Regions from separate parts of the Homo sapiens genome. Here region 2 is linked to region 1. Evidence: promoter capture Hi-C in human tissues and cell types (Jung and others, 2019). All regions are on one chromosome and are shown on one strand. Each heading gives the region's core, a stretch centred on a gene start or on the middle of the fragment in contact. The rest is flanking DNA. Distances are from core to core; before and after follow the strand shown. Region 1 holds the start of PIGZ (phosphatidylinositol glycan anchor biosynthesis class Z (Gwada blood group)). Region 2 overlaps PAK2 (p21 (RAC1) activated kinase 2).

Region 1 (4,338 bases), core at 737-3,236:
AAACACCCACGCCCAAATCCCAGGAGCCCTGTCAGGGCAGAGTTGGCCTTTACAGTGGCTCTCCAGGGAGGTCTCAAGACCAAGGTAGAGGAAAATACAACACACACACGCCACACGGGCGACGCTCAGCTGCATGGTGCCAAGCGAAGAAAGCCAGGCACAAAAGACCACACGGTGAATGGTTCTCCTTGCATGCAATTGCGAGAGAGGCAAAGGGCAGTGACAGAAATCAGAGGAGCAGTTGTCTGGAACCAGGGCGGAGGGGAGGTGAGGGGTTAGCTGCAGAGGGGCAGGAGGGTACTTTTGGGAGGAGAGGACTTCTTGAACTCGGGGGGAGACTAGCCTGGTGGTTTCGCGTGTCAGAAGTCATGGAACTGAGCCGGGCATGGTGGCGGGGCCTGTGGTCCCAGCTGCTCGGGAGGCTGAGGCAGGAGGATCGCTGGAGCCTAGAAGTTCAAGGCTGCGGTGAGCCGAGATCGTGCCACCGCACTCCAGCCTGGGCGACAGAGACCCTGTATCTAAAAAATAAAGGAAAAAATTCATGGAACTGTATACTTCCATGTACTGTACTTAAATTTCCTGGTATTTATCGTATGTATAGAATACCTCACATCTTAATAAAGTCGTCGTTTTTAGTGTGAGGGGTGCTATGGGGCACGGAGGGCGATCCGGCTGCCGACCCTCGGCGGCGGCGCGGGAGTGCGAGGCCGGCGGGGAGGTCGGGTCCTGCGGCCTCGCCGGGGCCCCTGCAGCGCTCTCCCGCCAGGGGGCAGCGTCGGGCCGGCGGCGCGGGCGGGAAGCTCCAGCGGCCGGGACGCGGTGGTGCCGTCTTCCCCCTGCGGTGAGGGACCGCGTCGCGCCACCCCGCTCTCAGCGCAGCCCGCAGCGGCGAGGCCACCGGGTGGGACACGGGTGCCCGCGCGTCGCGCCGCAGCTCGCGGGGACCTGGCGCCCCGTCCCGGGAGGGGATCTGGCCCCCGGGCGCCGGCTCTCCGTCCACGCGGCGTCCTCCCTGCAGCCCGCTAGGGCCGCTCGCCCGTCGCCGCCTGCGGAACGCGGAGGGGCAGCACGGCCACGCCCGGCCACTCGAACCTGCTCCCCGGCGCCGCGTGACCGTGTCAGGTCCCCGTCGGCCTCGCCGTGCCGACCCCGGGCGCCTCCACAGTGGCTCGGAGGCCGCTGCTGCCCGGATGCCCGGGTTCCACGAGGCTCTCCCAGCCCGACAAGCCCGCCGATCCCACGGGCACGGGCGGAGGAGAGGGAACCGCCGCGCCCGCCCCGCGCGCCGTCGCCGACCCCGGTGGGTCGCGCTTCCCCGCGCACGCCGCGCTCTGGCGCGGGGAGAGGCCCCTCGGGGTCCGCCCGGGTCAGCGTCCCGCGGGGGTGGCGGCCGTTCGCTCAGCCTCCTCTCGACTTCCCTTTCCTGTCAGGGCTGCTGGGGCTGACAGGCTCCCGGGCAACCACGCCGGGGAACCCCTCACGCCCGCCGATCGCTGCGGGGCTCAGCAGCCGCCCCGTGCGCTGAGTCCCCTGTCATGAGTGACTCCATTGCGAGGCGTTTCGGGCCACGAAGCAGGACCGGGGGCCGCACTCCGGGTCCCCGCCCTGCCCTCGCCGACCTCCCGCGCGTGGAAGGGGGACGGCGGCGGCGGAGCTCCCCGCCACGGAGAACCCCGAAATGGTCATTTCGAACGAGAGGAGTGTGGCCTGGGGTGTCTGGTTTAACAGCCCCCCGCGCCGAAAGGCTGTTCGCCGAGGAGGGGCCGCCGGGGAGGGAGCCCGAGCGCGGCGGGGCGAGACCGGTCCCCGCCCGGCGTTGCCCGGCCCGAGGGACGGCGGCGCCCCCAGGACCCTCCCCAGCGCGGCCCCAGCTCGCTCCGGGACCGCGGGGCCAGGCCGGGCGGGAGCGCGGGGACGTACACGGCGGCCCCGCCCGCGCGCTCCTCCTCCCTCCCGGCCCGCCCTGCGCCGGCGGCGGCGGCCCCAGTCTCCGCGCTGCTGAGGCGCGCCCGGCCGCTCCCACGGCCTCCCCTCCGCCCTGCGGTCCCGCCGCCTCCGGGGCCTCCTGGGACCCTGGCCCTCGCCGGGCAGGACGCCGCCAGCGCTGAAGGCGCAGCCCGGAGGCCGCGCGGGTGAGTCGGTGCGCAGCCCCAGCGGCTCCAGAGGAGCGGGTGCGGGGAGGGCGAGCGGACCAAGTCGGCCGCGTTCCCACCTTGCGCGCAGCCGGGAGACCAGCAGGCCCAGCCTCTAGGGAGGAGGGCAGGGGAGCTGGGGGCCGCCCCCCGCATTCTCGCAGGCACCTGTCCCTAGGCCGGGGTCCGCTGGCTCGAAGCACTGACCCGCCCCGGACCTAGGGGGACGGAGGCAGCGGTGACATTTGCCCAGGAAGGGCGGCAGTGGGTAAACTCCACTCCAGGGCACGGGTCTGGGCGCAGGTTGAGGCCTGGGGTTGAATCTGCTTCTGCTAGAGGCCAGTGTTCTCAGGGAGGCCCATAACCCGACTGGGTCTCAGTTCCCCCTGGTATGAAACAGCAACAGGGCAAGAGGAGGAAACCATGCCACGCTGCAAAGCTCTGAGCACGAAGCCGAGAAGAATCTCGGCTCCCGGCCTCGGGGGCTGCACTTCGGGCCAGGCCTGCACTCCCAGGATAAGAGGATGGCCTCCTGCCCCAGGGGTGGCATGGGGGCGCGCAAAAAGCAAAGGTGACCCTGCCAGGGAGCACCCAGCGCTCCGGTTGGTGGTCATGGGGTCTTTGCGTGGGACTCACAGTGTGGCCGGGAAAGTTCTGTAATGAGGACATTTCTCATCATTCCTTCTTCTCAAAAGTCATTCGTCAGCCCCAGACACCTTTGCCTCGGAAAACTGAGAACTACTTTCAAAATCGTCAACACCCCCATCTCCTGCTACAGAGCGGAGTCCCCACTTTGCAGAGGCGCACTGCAAGGTCGCGGGTGGTTAAATGGTGCGCCCTCCTTGATGAAGATGCCTTGTTCTCTTTCACTCTCTATGTGTGTTTAATGTTGTGTGTTGCGTTCTCTGTGAAGCGAAGGATAAACACGGGCCCTTTCAGGCAACCGAAGGAAGAAGGCGGCCAGCATCAGATCTTCCCGTGCTTCAAGGTGGAGCACCCTGCAGGGCTTACTGCAGCGCTCAGGGTCAAAGTGAGGATGCAGTGCGGCACCAAAAGGCAAATGGACTCTGGAGAGCCACTCTCACCTTGTACCCCTGGAGTAGACCCCGAGGACTGGAGGACTGGAACAAGATCTTAGTCCTGAGGGCGGGAGAAGCAGCCTTTGGTGGTTGCACAGGGGCCCGGCTTTTCCCGAAGTCTTAAAGCCTGCTCCAAATGCCAGATTCAGACAAAGGGGCCGAACCTTGGGCCCGCCGCCTTCTCCCATAAGCGGCAACCCAGCAGCTTTGCCAGGAAGTTTACATGTGAAGGTACGGACCTTTCTTGGAATGAGCCACACCTGATGGCCCTGCCACTCCGGACGGCGCTCGTTCACGGCTGTCCCTGGAGCAGACACGGTTCTGCGCACACACCTGGGCGCCGGAGAAACAGGGCACCCAAAGCGGGCCCAGGCCCTCGGACTCAGCGAGCTGGACACGTGTCCCCATCACCCGCGGCTGGCGGGAGCAGTGTTTCTACTCCCTTCCCTCCCCTCCTCCCGCCCCGCAGATGTGCTGTCTTTCCCGGCCTCCCCCCGCGCCCAGCACAGTGGTTTCTGCTTGGCTGTTCCCCTGTCTCTGAGATGGTCTCTCCCTGCTGCTTGCCCTACACATTCTCCCACACAGGCGCGCGGGATGCCCCTGTCGGCGTGGTTGTCAATGCCTGCTCCCCTGCCCCCCAGTCCAATCTCCACGACTCTGGGCCCTGTCGCTTCATCCTAAAGCCTTCCGCTCACGAGCCCTCCCGACGACCGACCCCCAGGAGGCTACTGGAGATGCAGGATTTGGACCCGTGCTGGACCCGCACCCGGACAGATCCCTCTGAATGAATGAATGAATTAATGAGCAGGCTGCATCCTGATTAGGTTAAGGTGGGTGGTTGCCATGCTTGGCGTTGGCTCTGTCCCCTGGGATAAAAGGCGAGAGGCAGCCACATGGACAGCTCCTCCAGTGGGGTCTCAGACTGGAGAGACGCCAGCGGGCGGGGGTCGTTCCCTGGAGCTCCCGCATTTGTTATGGTCGATGCCCCACTACGTTGTCACCTTCTCCGGAGGACCTCCTGCTCTGTCCTTGACAGATGGGCCCCAGTGGGCCCACCCAGGCTGGAGATGAATCTCAAAGGGACTCCATGCCTGGGAGACCTCAGCCAAGCAGGGCAGAGAAATAAT
Region 2 (4,338 bases), core at 1,327-3,826, 150 kb after region 1:
CTGTGTTGGCCAGGCTGGTCTTAAACTCCCAACTTTGTGATCTGCCCGCCTTGGCCTCCCAAAGTGCTGGGATTACAGGTGTGAGCCACTGCATCTGGCCTATTTATTTTTCTTTTCAGACACAGTCTCGCTCTGTTGCCCAGGCTGGAATGCAGTGGCATGATCTCAACACATGGCAACCTCTGCCTCCCGGGTTCCAGCAATTCTTGCAGCTCAGCCTCCCGAGTAGCTGGGAGTACAGGCATGCACCATTACGCCTGACTAATTTTTGTATTTTTAGTAGAGGTGGGGTTTCACCACATTGGCCAGGCTGGTCTCAAACTCCTAACCTCAAGCGATCTGCCCACCTTGGCCTCCCAAAGTGCTGGTATTACAGGCATGAGCCGCTGCGTCTGGTCCTAAATTATTATTTTTAACTGACTAATTTTTTAGAAGTTTTAGGTTTACAGAAAATTGAACAGATAGTACAGAGTTCCCACACGCAACCTCCCCAATGTGGAGTTTTATTATTGTCTACATTATTATACTATGGGACATTTGTTACAAATGAACCAATATTGATACACTTCTATTAAATTAAAGCCCTCAGTTTACATTAGGGTTCACTCTGTATTACATTACACAGTCCTATGGTCTTGTTTTTTTTTTTAATGCATTCTCGATATGTTGCCCAGGCTGGCCTTGAACTCCTGGGGTCAAGAGATCCTCCTGCTTCAGCCTTTCAAGCAGCAGGGACTACAGGTGTGCACCACCGTGCCTAGTTGTTCCATGGGCTTTGACAAATGAATGCTCTCCAGTGTCCGCCATTATAATATCATACAAAGTAATTTCACTGCCCAAAAAAATTCCCTGTGCTTCACCTACTCATCCTCTCTACCCCCGATCCCCTGCCAAACCCCATAACCACTAATCATTTTTACTCTCTACAGTTGAAATAATATGTAGCCTTTTTAGACTGGATTCTTTCACTAAGCAATATGCATTTAAAGTTCTTACAACTGAAATGCAGTCGTGAGATTGTTTTAATGAACTTCTGTCCGTTCCAGTTGCCTGGAAGTTTTTCTCATTATGGGCTGCATCTGCCTGCTCCTTTGCCTGTCTGGTAAACTTTGACTGATGTCTGGGTGATTGCTGGGTCCTGGCTATTTCTGTATTCCTACCAATATGCTTTTTCCCCCCATCAGGCAGATAAAATCTTGTTGTATTTGAATGACTGGATCTATGTAATCACCAAGATCCACTATGTACAGACGAGAGAGGGAGACCTTTATTTCTTAGTTTCTTCCTCCTGGGACAGTCTTAATGATTTTCTCTTGGCCCAGAGGCACTCTCCGTGGAACTACAGTGCTTTCCTGGTCTTAGAGCCATGTGCCCTGGCCTGGTCAATGAGAAGCTTCTTGAGGCCTTGTCTATCTTCAGCTTGGAATGAGTTCCGAAGAACCTGCTTGTTTCTGAACACGTCCCCCTTCACTTCATGTACAGGCTCTGATACACGTGAAGGTCAATCTCGGTAGATTCATAGTGTCTTCTGAGCAGCTGGGGTGGAATTCTCATCTTCCTCATCCAGGCTGCCTTTTTGGTAATGTGTGCATTAGCAGTTATGCCCATATGCCTGTGGGCCAAGGTGTTTTTTTCTTTTTTTTTTTTTTTGCGACAGAATCTCTCCCTGTCGCCCAGTTTCAAGCAATTCTCCCACCTCAGCCTCTCGAGTAGCTGGGAATACAGGTGCACGCCACCATGCCTGGCTCATTTTTGTATTTTTAGTAGAGACGAGGTTTCATCATGTTAGGCTGGTCATGAACTCCTGACCTCAAGTGATCTGCCCACCTCGGCCTCCCAAAGTGCTGAGATTACAAGCATGAGCCACCGTGCCCGGCCCAAGGTGTTTTTTTTGTTTGTTTGTTTGTTTGTTTGTTTGCGGGGATCCAGCCTGGGAATGGATAGTCACAGGCTTGCAGATGATCAGCCCATCTTTGATCAGCTTCTGGATCTGCTGATAGGAGCTTGGCGCTGGTGATTTTACCGATCTCACTGAGGTTCAAGTAGACCTTTTTGCCACAGTGAAGGCCACTGGAGGCGAGCCTCTTCTGAAGCCTGAGCGTACTCCTGGCTATAGACGCAGCCCTGTAAGACTCTTCAGCTTTGTACAGGAATGCAGTTGAGTTACTTGGGAACAGATCCCGTTAGTCTTTTCTCTCTCATGTAGACTCTTCTTTCAAAATACATCCAGACTCACACCACTTTTTCCCACCTCCACTGATACTGCCCTGGTCTAGGCCATCATCACTGCTTGCCTGAATTATGACATCAGCCTCTTGACTGGTCTTCTGCTCTGCCTTTGCCTTCCTCAGGGATCTCTCAACAACGCAGCCAGGGAAATCCTATTAAAACTGAAGGAGACCACTTTGCTTCTCTGCTCAGATCTCTCTAACAGTTTCCCCATTTGGCCTCCAGTAAAAGCCAGAATCCTTCCAGAGCTCTCATAAGGCACTACGGTCTGGCCTGGTTTCTTCGCCGATCGACCGCACCTCTCGCTGTTTGCTCAGCGTACGCCAGCTGTGCTGAGGTCCAGAATCATCTCTCAATACACAAGGAACGCTCCTGCTTTAGAGCTTTTGCACTTGCTGTGCCTTCTGCTTAGAATGCTTTTCCCTCAGGTAAGTATCACGCTCTTACTTCCTGTGTCCAAATGTCACCTCAGGGAAGCCCTCCCTATGCACGCTTTTGATTTAATTTTACATTTTATTTTTATTGTATTTTTTTTGAGACAGGTCCTAGCCGTCACCCAAGCTGGAGTGCAGTGATGTGATAACAGCTCACTGCAGCCTCATCTTCCTTGGGCCCAAGTGACCCACGCACTGGGGCAGGATGATGGTTCCAATTAGCTGTGACTACAGGCACACACTAACATGCTTGGCTAATTTTTAAATTTTTTTGTAGAGATGGGGACTCACTATGTTGCCTAGGCTGGCCTTGAACTCCTAGGCTCAAGCAATCCTCCCACCTTGGCCTCCCAAAATGCTGGGATGACAGGCGTGAGCCACTGTGCCCAGCTCTCTAAGCACCTTTTGAAAGTAAACACCCTAACCTCCTTCCTGCCAGTCTCAGTACTCAAGAGTCCATTATTCAATGTATGACACATTATTCTGATTTATTTTGTTTTTCTCTTTTCCCACTAGAAGACAAGTTCTGTAAGAGCAGGAATTTTTGTGGGTTCTTTTAGACAGCATTGTGAATAGTGCTCAGCGCATGGCAGGTACCCAAACCAATACTGGCTAAATGAATGAATAACATTAGAGGGCTTTAATGTCATTCTGAAAAGTGGTCTAAACTAATCACCTCTATAGAAGTACTTTAACGGCCCACATAAACTGGAATCTTTGGCAACTGGATGAAAAGCATTCAGGAAACAGACGGTCAGAATCTGCTGCCATCTGTTGTTCGGCTTCTTTCACTTAGCACAGTACTCTCAAGGTTCAATGCTGTAACACGGATTGGCACTTCCTTCCTTTCTATGACCAAATAATATTCCACTGTTCACCAGGTTTGAATTATTTCCACTTCTGTGGCTGCATGAAGGTTTCTGTATGGATGTATGATTTTAATTCTCTTGGCTCTGTACCCAGCAGAGGAACCGCTAGGTCATCTGGTAATTCCGTATTAACTTCACACAGAATTGTCAAGTTGTTTTCCAAAGCAGATGTACCATTTTATATTTTGCAATGAACGAGATTTCTAGTTTCCTTATCTTCTCACCAACATTTATTTATTTATTTATGGAGACGGAGTTTCGCTTTGTCGACCAGGCTGGAGTGCGATGGCATGATCTCGGCTCACTGCAACCTCCGCCTCCTGGGTTCAAGTGATCCTCCTGCCTCAGCCTCCCACGTAGCTGGGATTACAGGCACCCACCACCATGCTCAGCTAATCTTGTATTTTCAGTAAAGATGGGGTTTCTCCATGTTGGTCAGGCTGATCTTGAACTTCCAACCCCAGCCTCCCAAAGTGCTGGGACTACAGGTGTAAGCCACCGCACCCGGTCACCAATATTTATTAATTGTCTTTTTGAGTACAGCCATTCTAGTAGTTGTGAAGTGTTATCCTGTTGTGGTGGGGTTTTTTGTTGTTTTTTGCTGAGACAGAGTCTCACCCTGTCGCCCAGGCTGGAGTGCAGTAGTGCTATCTTGGCTCACCGCAACTGCCACCTCCTGGGTTCAAGCAATTCTCTTGCCTCAGCCTCTGATTGTTGAGGTTTTGATTTACATTTCCTTAATAACTGATAATGTTGAGCCACATATGGTAATTTAAAAAAAAGAGAAGTGGCCAGGTGCAGTTGTT

The links. The method cuts DNA at HindIII sites, captures the fragments that hold promoters and counts their contacts. A contact is called where the count stands out against the background at its distance.
Region 2: a fragment that was not itself captured here is called in contact with the fragment with the promoter of PIGZ in region 1 in 2 of the 25 tissues and cell types used here (lymphoblastoid cells and spleen).

The regions. Positions count from the first base shown.
Region 1 is chr3:196,966,481-196,970,818 of GRCh38, reverse strand. It overlaps PIGZ (phosphatidylinositol glycan anchor biosynthesis class Z (Gwada blood group)), which reads left to right and starts at 1,986. Exons shown (of 3, transcript NM_025163.4): 1 at 1,986-2,132. LOC124906255 (collagen alpha-1(I) chain-like) reads right to left here and starts at 1,686. Exons shown (of 3, transcript XM_047449439.1): 1 at 1,570-1,686; 2 at 607-1,423; 3 at 1-518. The coding sequence starts at 1,686. The coding sequence ends at 608. RefSeq lists silencers at 647-866, 877-1,196, 1,307-1,366, 1,477-1,536, 1,547-1,756 and 1 more and enhancers at 802-1,337, 1,338-1,873, 1,874-2,409. The HindIII fragment of the contact is 30,202 bases long and covers 1-4,338 here.
Region 2 is chr3:196,821,124-196,825,461 of GRCh38, reverse strand. The region is part of intron 13 of PAK2 (p21 (RAC1) activated kinase 2); the gene reads right to left. Among named protein-coding and RNA genes, the nearest start is that of SENP5, 45 kb to the left of the region's middle. The HindIII fragment of the contact is 5,691 bases long and covers 1-4,338 here.